2 separate regions of the Homo sapiens genome follow, and region 1 is linked to region 2. The links are contacts of gene promoters, found by promoter capture Hi-C in human tissues and cell types (Jung and others, 2019). All regions are on one chromosome and are shown on one strand. Each heading gives the region's core, a stretch centred on a gene start or on the middle of the fragment in contact. The rest is flanking DNA. Distances are from core to core; before and after follow the strand shown.

Region 1 (6,833 bases), core at 860-3,359, 1.0 Mb after region 2:
CAGCCTGGGCAACAGAGTAAGACACTCTCTCTCAAAAAAAGAAAACACTTGATATCATAGAATTAGAGAAGAGAATGGTGTTTACAGGTCGGGGGTAATGTGGGTGAGGGAGGGAAGATGGTGTTGGCTGGGGAAATGTTGGTCAAAGGATATAAAATTTCAGGAAGATAAGAGAAATAAGCTCAAGAAATCTATTACACAACAACGTATCTACTATTAATAACTACTATTAATAACTATTCTGTAGTGCTAAGAGAGTGGATATTAAGTGTTCTCACCACAAAAATGATAACTATGTGAGGTAATGCATTGCTAATTAGCTAGATTTAGTCATTCCACAATGTACATATACTATAAAACATCATGTTGCACACGATAAATACATACAATTTTATCTGTCAATTTAAAAAGAACTTCTGTCCTAGATCATTTGAGCAACTCACTCATTTTCTTACTATGCAAGCAGCAATCACAATGAATCACATATTCCCAATGCTCCTGTCCTATAGAAAGTCAAGGGAAATGACCTAAAATGACCACACGAAAACAAAAGCTAAAACATTAAACATTTATTATTATATGCCTAGCACTGCTCTAAGAGGTTTTAGAGTATTAATTCATTCTAATGTTCATTACAAGCCTGAGAAGACCAGAAACGGACAGAACAAACATTCCAACCCAGATACTCTGGATCCACTCCCCTATTCTTAACCGCAACAGCGTACTGCCTCTCACAGTTCACACAAATAGCCCAAAATGCAACCGGAACTGCCGAATCTCACAGAGATCTGGCAAGTATTACAATTATCATCTCATGGACTCTCCCGAAAAATCCTGACTCTGGTTGATACCAATTTCTGTGCAATCACTTTCCGATTCCTGAAAGCCTCACAGACGAATGGAAATCACCCAACCATCTCCATTCTTCCCTACTTGGAAAAGGAGGCCTGTAAAGAGTCAGAAACCTGGCGTGTGATTCCACAAACTAATCTTCTTTTCAAAGCAGAGTCTAAAATAAAGCTTTAATATAAACCTCTGGAGGACTATTTTTATACCAGCTTAGAAGAAGAGAGCGTACAGGAAGGTGTGAACGATTTGCCAAATGGCTCTGTGAATATTAAATGGCAAGGTGGGGAGCGGGCGGGGTGGGGAACGGCTCGCTGGGAGGCGGCACAATGGGAGGGGGCAAGAATCAATTTGCATATTCTCCTGAAATTCACTAAAAATTTACAGGAACCTCTATATTCTAAAATCAAAAACGCATTTCTTGAACAAATACAAAGCACAAACTCACCCTTGACTTAAGTGTGCAACAATAACGCTCTCATCCTCCTCTCGGTCCTTCTTTTGGATAATAATACGACTGGAGAAGGATACGGCAAGCGTGAGACTCCAGGCTTTTCTTGGAGCGCAGACTAAGTTTGAAAGCACCCTCCATGGCCACAACTTCCCTCACTTCGTACGAAATGAGAAGGAAATAAAAGGAGGAGGAATCGGTCTGAGTTCGAAGCTGGTTCCTGGGGACAGATCTCTGAGGGACGCTGGGTTCTCAACATGTAGCTGCCCTCCTGGGGGACCCTCAAGAGGCACTTCCAGCTCTCATATTCCCACCCCGAGTCCAGATCTGCGCCTTCTTGTGCAAAGCTTCATTCTCGGTTCAATATCTAACCTCCCTACTGGGGACATTTTCATTCCTCTGCTGCAGCCTCTGCAGCTTTGAAGGGGAAAGACGGAGGAAGCAGCAGGAGCCTAGTACCACCGGCACAGTGACACTCACACAGCCCCAGCAAAACGCACTGCGTCCACACGCCGTCCCGGTCCTGTGCACAGGGCCTCACGCACACACTCACACAGTCCCCTCCGTCACTCAAGATCGCGCAATCCCCATCCTTTGATGCCCGCGCACACGCACGCCTAAGGATCTGGCAGATTCCGTCTGCGCCCCGGGTTCCTCCTCTGAGCGCCTCGCTCTCGCCCACCCGCACTGCCGGGTCGGTCAGGTTCGAGTCCCAGTCCACGAAGACCTCCCGCAGCCACCGATTTCTTCCTAGGACGTGAAGACCTTACCCAGCTAGGTCGTCAACCCCAGGAGACAGGAAGTGGAACCGCTAATTCCGGTGCGGTGGCCTCTGGGAAATACAGTCCTGAGCAGAAAGAACCTCAGAAGTCTTGGTCTATGGTCTGTTCAGGTTGATCCCAGCATACATTGGGGGCTCCTAAGGGACCCGAGCCTAATGGATTTGTGGGAGTTCCAGACCGTGGGGTGCAGAGGTTGCGGCCACGGGCGAGAATCCCCATCTGAGAGGAGCGTTGCTGTTTTCGGTGCGTCAGGGTAAATTACCTTTTCTCTCTATGCAAAAGAATGCAAATGAGCAGAACTTTTAAAGAAGAATTTAAAGTAAAATTACGTCAAAATGTAGCTGCTTTGACCTCTTCGTCTCAGATCCGAGCATAGGCTTCCCCTTTGTGCTATTTGAAGGGACTTAGGATAAATTTGAAAAGCCTGAACTAAAGAAATGGTTGGAGAGACTCCGTCTCAAAAAAAAAAAAAAAAAGAAAGAAAGAAAGAAAAGGAATCGTTGGTTTTATACTAGAAGAGGAAGTGTGGTTTACATGAGAGATTTCAGAATCAAATATACTTGATTCTTCAAGACAATCTTCCTGTTATCTGGAGAGAAAAACGTGATTCAGGACGGCATGGAAACAGATAAAAGTACACAGAGAATTACTTGCCTTATCTTGAAGGATGAATAATTAACACATTTTCTTAAAACAGTCTAAATAAATGCCAAAGGGGGTTTGTTTTTCGTAGGAAAAGCTTGATTTCACTGTTGTAATCTAGCAACATTGAACTTTCAAAATGATTTTTGTAGTTTCCTATGCTATATAAAGCGGAAACGTGGAATAATGAAGAGCAAAATGTCTTTTCATTCCCGACTGTGACAGAAAACAGATAGCAAGATAACAAACTTAATTGGATCAATGATCACATTAAGTGTAACTGGTCTAACACCTTAACTTAAGAAGGTTGTCAGGTTGGATTTTTTTTTTAAAAGTCAGACCCAAATACGTGCTACCTACAGGTAATACTTAAAATATAAAAGCACTAATAGGTTAAAAGTAAAAGGATGGAAAAATATATAAAATCCTAACACTAGTCAAAAGAAAGCTGGAGTGGCTATATTAAAAACAAAGTGACTTCACCAAAAAGACTATATCAGGGATAAAGAAAGTTACATCATCATAATGATGAAGGATACAGTTCATCCAGTGGAAAGAACAAACCTAAATTATGCTCTTAATACAGCTTCTAAGTATGTGAGTAAAAACCTGTTAGATCAATAAAGTAACAGACAAATCCACAATTATAATCAGATATTTCAACATATCTCTCTTGGTAATTGATAGAACTAATGCAGAAAAGCAACAGGGTATAGATTATCTAAACAACATATCAACCTGCTTGATCTCATTTACACTTCTGGAACACTCTTCTCAAAGACAGTAAAATTCATCTTAGGTGGACAGGAGACACTTTCCAGCGTATACCATATTCTGGGCCATAAAGCAAGTCTCCATAAATGAGTAAATGGACTCAAGTCATACAAAGAATGTTTTTGACAAAAATGGAATTAAATTAGAAATCAATAACAGCTCACTATATATTGTCCAAAGTAGTAAAAATTTGAAAATGTATGAATACTATGATAATTGAAATTATATAATGTTTGAAAATTTCCTTTATGAGTCATAATTTTCTGTTATATCCTAAAGGGTAAACAATAACATATTTGCATTAAAACAAAATAATGTTTTTGTAGTAAGGAAAAAATTTTAAGCTATCTATATTGACTATGCATTAAAGAGCAGAATAATTATTTTTGGTATATATTCCAATGCTTTAATCAATTTCTTAGCCAGTATCACCATATTTTTAAGGATTTTTTTTGACACAGTCTATTATTTTTAAATTTTGATAAAATTGTATGTAATCCTCAATGCTGGACTTTATGGTTAATAAACTTGAAATTATAGCTACCTTCAAATGGCGCTTCTCTGAACACCATACCTTTTAAATTGAGATATATACTCTGCATATACTAAGGTAATCAGAAGTCTTAGAATATAGCCAATGAAATGGAAAATATCCTCATGAGTATTGTGAATATGGAATATTAGATTGCAAATATTTTAGCAGTTGATGTATTTTGCCTTCACAGTACATTTCTACTTTTTTTTTTGCCACTTAGTCTAGGAAGGGTACATTTATTTAAAAATTATTCCTAAAGCCAAACAAATTGGCTCAATTTATGATACCTTTGAATGTTAAGCCAAATTTAGGTGTTACGGAAACATAAACCTTCTCAATTGCATTCCATTCTAACACAAATTGTAAATGTATCCAGTTAGAAATGGGAGCACCATCAAAAGACTACTGCCATAGCTGAAGAAAGTCCTATGCAAAATTGAAGAATTTCAAAATTAAATCCTGTATATAATACGTTAGTTCATGACTTTATTTATTCAGTTTCTTCCTTAATTTGTAGGACTAAATCCCATTGTCTTCATGTTGGCAAGTTCTGATAACTGAAATTCTGTTGAATTTCTATACTGAATAGGAGTAAGGATAGATGATATCACTGTTTTGTGCCAAATCAACAGAATCTTAAACAACCAAAGGGTTAAAGAACAAATAAAAAGAGAATTTAGAAAACATTTTAGATAAATACAAATTTACTAAAGTTCATGAGATGCTTACTGCTCAGGGAAAAATTTATAGCTCTACATGCCTATAAAAAGGAGGAAAGATGTCAAATCAATGACCTAACTGTATACACTTAGGAATTAGAATATGAAAAATAGAAAAAAAAAAAAAGCAAAACCAGGAGAAGAAAGGAAATAATAAAGATAAAAGTGAGGTTAGATTAAATAGAAAATAGAAAAATAATAGAGAAAACTTACAAAATTAAAAGCTGGTTCTTTGAAAAGATCAAAAAAAGTGGCAAAACTGTAGCAGGACTGAACAAGAAAAAAGAGAAAACATCAAAATTACTAAAGTCAGAGCTGAAAGTGGAGACATTACTAAACTTACAAAAATGAAAATGATGATAGAAGAAAATTATAAACAATTGTATGTCAACAAAATAACCTAAATGGAAAGGAAAAAGTCCTAGAAACACACAAACTATCACTGACTCAAGAAAAAATAGAAAATCTTAACAGGAGTGATGTCAGCAAGATAGAAGAATGGGACTTTCCAGCACTTAGCTCTCACAGAAACATCAATTTAAACGTATATCTATGCATGAACAAACTTTCACAGGAGCTAAAGAATCCAAGTAGCTCACTCAGAGGGGATGGGAATGAAGCAGCTAGTAGACAACTGTCTCTGAGACAGCAAAAATGTTGGATTTAGCAAAGATCTGAAAGCAGCTATTTTAATTATGTTCAAAGAACTAAAACAAGCCATATGTAAAGAATTTAAAGAAGAGTATGACAATAATACCCTGCCAGAGACTATCGACAGAGAGATGGAAATTATTACTGCAATGAAAGAACCAAGTAGAAATTCTAGAGTTGAAAAGCACAATAACTGAAATGAAAAATTCACTAGAAGAACTCATAGCAGATTTAACCTGAAAAAAGAATTAGTGAACTTGAAAATAGGTCAAGTCAATAAAATTATGCAGTCTGAAGAACAGAAAGAAAAACAGAAGGAATAAAAATGAAGAAAGCATCAGAGGCATGTAGTACACCATCAAGCAAACCAACATACATATAAGAGGAGGGTCAGAAGGAAAGAAAAAGAAAAAATGCTTGAAAAATAATGGCCAAACTCTCTGTGAAGTTGATCACACACATGCACACACACCTACATTTACAAGAATGTGAACACACTCCAAGTGGGATAAACCCAGATATTAATACTTAATCAACATGTCTCAAGGAGAGCTACCCCAGAGTCAAATTGTCAGAAGCCAAGAACAAAGGGAAATCTTGAAAACAGCAAGGGAAACATTATTCATCATATAAACGAGATTCTCAACAGGACTACTGGCTGACTTCTCATCAGAAACAACAGAGAACAAAAGGCAGTGGGATGAGATTCAAAGTACTAAAACAAACAAAAACAAAAAACAAAACAAAACAAAACAAAAACAAATAAAACCCTACCAGTCAACCAAGAATTCTATATCCAGAATATTCTCTCTCAAAATATAGATAAAATAAAGAGAATTGCAGATAAGGACTGAAAGCCTTTGTTGCTAGCAGACTTTCCTAATAAGAAATATTAAAGTTCTTTAGAATGAAGGTGATGGTCACTGGAATCCACACAAAGAAATAATGAGCACTGATTAAAGTCATTACATAGGTAAATAAAAGATAATATACACTTTTACTTTTTTATTTTAACTGATTAAAGATAACTGCATAAAACCATAATTATACAATTGTATTATTTTGTTCATAATGTATAAAGTTGTAATTTGTGTCACATTCATATTACTATGATAGCACAAAGGAAGGGAGCTATATTGGAGTAAACTTTCTGTATACTATTGATATTATTTTATTTATTTTGATTTTTAAAATTTTATTTCTAATTTTTTGTAGAGACAGGGTCTCACTATATTGCCCAGGCTGGTCGTGAACTCCTGGGCTCAGGCAATCCTTCCACCTCAGCCTCCCAGAGTGCTGGGATTACAGGTGTGAGCCACCATGCCTGACGACTACTGTTATTATTTTAGCAATAATCTCAATTAGATTTTTTTAAGCTAAGATATACATTAGTTCTTTTTAAAAGCTGAAAACAGACGGAAAACAAAAGGATG
Region 2 (6,042 bases), core at 1,543-4,042:
GGACAAGCTCTGGAGTCAGAATCTGACTCTGAGCCTTATGCCAGGTTCTGCCAAGCCCAGGCTGTGTGACCAGACCAGGGCAAGTCATCTCCCCTTTCTTTTTTTGATGGAGTCTCGCTCTGTTGCCCAGGCTGGAGTGCAGTGGTGCCATCTCAGCTCACTGCAACCTCCACTTCCCGGGTTCAAGTGATTCTCCTGCCTCAGCCTCCTGAGTAGCTGGGACTACAGACACTTACCATGACGCCCAGCTAATTTTTTGTATTTTTAGTAGAGATGGGTTTTGCCATGCTGGCCAGGCTGGTCTCGAACTCCTTAGCTCAAGAGATCTGCCCACCTCGGCCTCCCAGAGTGCTGGGATTACAGGCATGAGCCACCGTGCCCAGACTGCCATCTCCCCTTTCCCAACCTCTCAATTTCCTGAGAAGCTCTGAATGATCTGAGGGCTTGAAATACACCTTCCCACAGGATCAAGGTTCAAAAAAAGGTGCTCACATAAAGTACTTGCTATGTGTTTGCCATATAATAATTGTCATTGCAAGAGCCCTATCTTGTAAACAGGGGAAACAGAGGTATGCTGTGACTTGCCCAAGGCTACAAAGCCACAGAGCTAGGGTTTGAATCTGGGAGGTCTGGCTCCAGAACCTAAGCTCTTGGCTAACTATGCTGTTTTCTCCTCCTAAGGCAAGGAGCATCTCATTCATTCACAGACAAGACTGAGCTGGGCCAAAGGTCTCTGTACTGGATCTCATCTTCTGTCTTCCAATCCACATCCTTTTGGGCATGAGCAGAAAGTGTGTACTCTGCTAATTACTAGAACTGTGAGTGTGTTTTTCACTTCACCTCCCTGAACTTCAGTTTCTTTTCTTTCTTTTTTTTTTCCAGGACTGAGTCTCACTCTGTCGTCCAGGCTGGAGTGTAGTGGTACAACCTCCACCTCCTGGGTTCAAGTGATTCTCCTGCCTCAGCCTCCCAAGTATGTGGGACTACAGGTGTGCACTACCAGGCCCGGCTAATTTTTTTTTTGTATTTTTAGTAGAGACGAGGTTTTGCCATGCTGGTTGGGCTGGTCTCGAACTCCTGACCTCAAGTGATCTGCCTGCCTCGACCCCCCAAAGTGCTGGGATTATAGGTGTGAGCCACCATGGCTGGCCTGAACTTCAGATTTTTTATCTGTAAGGAGGGGTTAGGAGGCCTAAATTAAGTCACCCATAAAAAGGCCATGTCACATGCAGTCAGTGCTTAGCAAGGGGCTATTTTAATCGTCACACTCACCAGTCAGAGACACAAATCTCAATCCTGCCACTATCCAGCAGTTCTGGCCACAGACCCTCCTCCTCTAGGTCCAAGACCTGCTTCTTGCAACACCAGCTGGGAATGCAGGAGACAGGGTAATGAGAACAGGCAGGCCTTTCTCAACAAGGGGCCGGACCTTTGGATAGCAGGGGCATTCACCTGAATGAAGTCACGAAGCACGTCTGAGAAGGGGCCCCAGGCACGGTTGTCCTGTTTTCCTCCACCACCCAGCCGTCCCCACCGTGTTGCACCATCCACTTTCGGAGGCCTTCTGTGAAATAAAAAAGGCTTGTGCCCAAGTTCCAGTCGCCCGCCTGTTGGTTCCTAGTGAGACCCCGCCCCTAGCCCCTCCCACGTGCTCACAGTGCAGCTCACTCACCTGACCCTTCCCACCGAGGCCCCGCCCCCTTCCCCTCCCACCAGCTCAGGGCAAAGCCCCGCTCCTCTGGCCCTTCTCACTGATTTGCAGCAAAGCCCTGCCCCTCCAACCCCTCTCTCGGGCTCCCAGAACTGCCCCACTCCCACCCCTCCCACAGGCAAACGGTGAAGCCCTGCCCAGTCAGCCCTGCACCCTGCGTGCCAATGCTGCCTCGTCCCTCCGACACCTCCCACCGGCTCCCAATGCTGCCCCGCCCCTCCGGCACCTCACACCGGCTCCCAATGCTGCCCCGCCTCTCCGACTCCTCCCACCGGTCCCACTGCGGCCCTGCCCCTGCGGCCCCTAGTACCGGTCCCAGTGCGGCCCCGCCCCTCCGGCCCCGCTACCGCTCCCACTGTGGCCCAGCATCCTGGACTTCCTCTTCCGAGATCCCACCTTGGCCGCAGGGGTTGCGAATAAGGTTGCGTCCGATGGGTCTGCGCGCGCAGAAGCGGCCCAGGGGGCAAGGCCTGGCGTTACGGGCGGGAGACTGGCAGCTGCGGGCGAGGTGCAGCAGCGCGCGGCCGGTGGCGCCGTGGTCGCGGGCCAGGATCAGCAGCCACAGGGCCTGGCCGTCCACCAGGGCTCGCCAGCCCCGGCACACTTGGCGGCAGCGCCCGAGCAGCGTGCGCGGGGGGACGTGGCTCAGCACCACCAGAAGCAGCTCTGGGGGTAGTTGGCTCAGGTCCAGCGCCTCTTCGGGTTCCGGCTCCGGCGCGGGGACCCGGGCGGCCCGGCCCCTGGAGACCGAGGCGCCCATGGTCCCCCCGCCAGGCCCGGCTGTGGCTGCGGGAGAGGAAGGGTCAAGGCGTCAGGGACCAGCAGCCTCCGCGGCGCGCAGCCTCTGCCTGCCCTGATTCTGCCAGCCGCACCCCCGTCTTCACCATCCCTGGGCCCCGTCCCCAAGTCCCCATCCCCCAGCCCGTCCTTGATAGCCCCGATATCCCGGAGACCCCGCGGTCTGTGTGTATGCCCCGAATTGCATGCAATCAGCCCCCCTCGGCGGCCGCACCGACACCGCACCCCAAGTCCTACCCCGGGGCCTGGCGGCGCTCCTCGCCGGGATGCCCTAGCTGTGCCGCAAGCTCCCCACGCCCCTCTGCGTCCTTTTTACTCGCCGGCCCCTCCCCTCTTACTAGCCAGCTTCACCCACCCCTGCATCCTCTTTCTTACTCGCCAGCCCCTCCCGCCTGCTCCCTCCCGCTCTCCAAACCCAACCTGCTTCCCGCGACGGGGCCAGGTGCAGCCAGGAGCCAAGGCCTGCTGCTCACAGCCGTCCCCTCCAGCCGGCCCCTTGAAGTGTCCCTAATTCGTTAGTAGCAATGAGACGTCTGGCTCTGAGCAACCATTGTTATTTTGGTCAGGCTTCTGAGTGGGAGGCCTCGTATCCGTTAACGTGTTAAAAAATTTCCATCACCTTTAAGGTCGGGCGTGGTTATCTTCATTTCACAGGAGAAAACAGGCTCCGGCTGCTAAAAATTAATGCAACCAATAGTAACACCAGCCAACTTTTATGGACGGTTTTACTGCCAGCCAGGGTGGCAACCCCATGAAGTAGGTGCTGTTATGCCCTTTACTTCACAGGTGAAAAAACTGAGACCAGCAGAGGCCAAGTGGCTTGTCTATGATCACCAGCTAGTAGGGATTTGAATCCAGCCAGCCTAGCTCCGGAATTCCTCATTTTAACCTCTAGATCAGCTCTGTCCAATAAAAATACAATTGTGGCTGGGTGCGGTGACTCATGCCCGTAATCCCAGCACTTTGGGAGGCCAAGGCAGGCGGATCGCTTGAGGTCAGAAGTTCGAGACCAGCCTGGCCAACATGGTGAAACCCCGTCTCTACTAAAAATACAAAAATTAGCTGGGCGTGGTAGCACGCGCCTGTAATCCCAGCTAATTTGGAGGCTTAGGCAGGAGAATTGCTTGAATCCGGGAGGGGGAGGTTGCAGTGAGCAGAGATTGCACCACTGCACTCCAGCCTGTGCAAAAGAGTGAGTGAGACTCCGTCTCAAAAAACAAACAGAAAAAAAAAATTGTGAAAGTTGATCATGTGAATTGGATCCTTCTTGTCATATCCAACTAAAACAAAGTTGAGAGGCCGGGGGGAAAACACTTAGGGCAGATACCATTGCTCCAAGAAAGTGATTCTCTGCAAGCCTGGCTGTTAAAACTGCCTGTTGTAACCTGGAAGCAGTCTAACTGGTACTGAAAAAACCTGCCGTGACTCTAAGACTAGTTTTTCCCTCTGCTGTCACTTACCAGTCAGAACTTGCCAGCTCCCCAGAACGTTGCTAGTGTCAATGAACTTTCTTGCAAAACAATACCTAACATTTCTGTTTCTTATAAAAACCTCTAACCTCTTTGTTCTTTGAAAGTTCTGAAGACCGCCTGGTCTGTGTGGATGCCTCGAATGTCAATTCTTGCTTCCCAAATAAAACATTTTATTATTTTTTTGAGACAGAGTCTCGCTCTGTCGCCCAGGCTGGAGGGCAGTGATGCAATCTCGTCTCACTGCAACCTCCGCCTCATGGGTTCAAGCGATTCTCCTGCCTCAGCCTCCCGAGTAGCTGGGATTACAGGCGCATGCCACCATGCCCAGCTAATTTTTGTATTTTTAGTAGAGACGGGGTTTCACCATGTTGGCCAGGATGGTCTCAAACTCCCGACCTCAGGTGATCTGCCCGCCTCAGCCTCCCAAAGTGCTGGGATCGCAGGCATGAGCCACCGCAACAAAACATTTTAAATCGAGAGATTTGTCTCTATATCTCTATATTTTATTTGGCTTCGACATAACGTGAGCTGTATACATAGTTTAAGACATCAACAAACAAAACCAGACATGGATTCTTCCCCACAAAGAACTTACCTTCTAGAGGGAGAGACATGATAAACAGTTGGCATAATGAGCAAATTACGTAGTATCAGGGAAATAATTAAATATAAAACCTCCAGGCCGGGCATGATGGCTCACGCCTGTAATCCCAGAACTTTGGGAGGCTGAGGCAGGCGGATCACTTGAGGTCAGGAGTGTGAGACCAGCCTGGCCAAAATGGCGAAACTCCGTCTCTACTGAAAATACAAAAATTAGCCGGGCATGGTGGCGCATGCCTGTGATCCCAGCTACTCGGGAAGCTGAGGCATGAGAATCACTTCAACAAGGGAGGCAGAGGTTGCAGTGAGCTGAGACCTCACCACTGCACTCCAGCCTAGGCGACAGAGTGAGAAGCTGTCTTAAATAAATAAAATAAATAAAACCTCCTTTTGACCCTCTTAGAATCCTCTCCACAAATGCAGAAAAGAATTAAATGGGTCCTGGCATGGGGGCTCACACCTGTAATCCCAGCACTTTGGGAGGCCGAGGCAGGAGGATCTCTTGAGCCCAGGAGTTTGAGACCAGCGCTGGCAACACAGTGAAACCCCGTCTCTACAAAAAATTTAAAAAGTAGCTGCAAATAGTGGTGTGCACCTGTAGTCTCAGCTACTTGGGAGGCTGAGGTGGGAGGATGGCTTGAGCCTGGGAGGTTGAGGCTGCAGTGAGCTGTGATCATGCCACTGCACTTCAGCCTGGGCTACACATCGAGACCCTGTCTCAAAAAAAAAAAAAAAAAAAAAAGAAAAAGAAAAAGAAAACAAGTAAAAAAAAGAATGAAACGGTTGTATTAGTGTATACACTTCAAACTAGCCTGTAATGTGCTTCTGTCATGATGAACAGTAAACATAATAAGTGTGTGTGTGTTAAAAAGTGATTAGTGCTGTGAAAAATTAGAGCAGAGAAGGGAAATGGGGCATAACGAGGCTGGGTTGGGTGGATAGGAGAGGGAGACCCTGAATTAGGAGAGATGGATGAACTATTATGCTGGTCTAATTTCTTCTCAATATGTATATTTTCATTTTTAAAATTTTGTTTCAACTGGACACGGTGGCTCACACCTGTATCCCAACACTTTGGGAGGCCGAGGCAGGTGGATCACCTGAGGTCAAGTGTTTGAGACCAGCTTCACCAACATGGTAAAACTCCGTCCCTACTAAAAATACAAAAACCTAGGTGCAGTGGCTTATGCCTGTAATCCCAGCACTGTGGGAGGCCGAGGTGGCAGATCACGAGGCCAGGAGTTCGAGACCAGCCTGGCCAATATGGTGAAACCCCAACTCTACTAAAAATACCAAAAAAAAAAAAAAAAAAAATTAGGTGGGCATGGTGGTGCGCACTTGTAGTCCCAGCTACTCAGGAGGCTAAGGCAGAAGAATCACTTGAACCCAGGAGGCACAGGTTGCAGTGAGCTGAGATCCCACCATTGCACTCCAGCCTGGGCGACAAGAGTGAAAATTTGT

Evidence for each region. Contacts are between HindIII fragments. The study calls those that stand out against the background at their distance.
Region 1: the fragment with the promoter of ZNF780B here is called in contact with the fragment with the promoter of FBXO27 in region 2 in 1 of the 25 tissues and cell types used here (stomach).

Annotation. Positions count from the first base shown.
Region 1 is chr19:40,054,122-40,060,954 of GRCh38, forward strand. It overlaps ZNF780B (zinc finger protein 780B), which reads right to left and starts at 2,110. Exons shown (of 5, transcript NM_001005851.3): 1 at 2,068-2,110. RefSeq lists an enhancer at 1,970-2,099. The HindIII fragment of the contact is 5,330 bases long and covers 1,333-6,662 here.
Region 2 is chr19:39,029,757-39,035,798 of GRCh38, forward strand. FBXO27 (F-box protein 27) reads right to left here and starts at 2,793. Exons shown (of 6, transcript NM_178820.5): 1 at 2,747-2,793; 2 at 2,108-2,497; 3 at 1,453-1,564; 4 at 1,273-1,368. The coding sequence starts at 2,471. RefSeq lists enhancers at 1,372-1,481, 1,888-2,680 and silencers at 1,590-1,772, 1,622-1,861, 2,012-2,091, 2,292-2,441, 2,502-2,571. The HindIII fragment of the contact is 13,585 bases long and covers 1,309-6,042 here.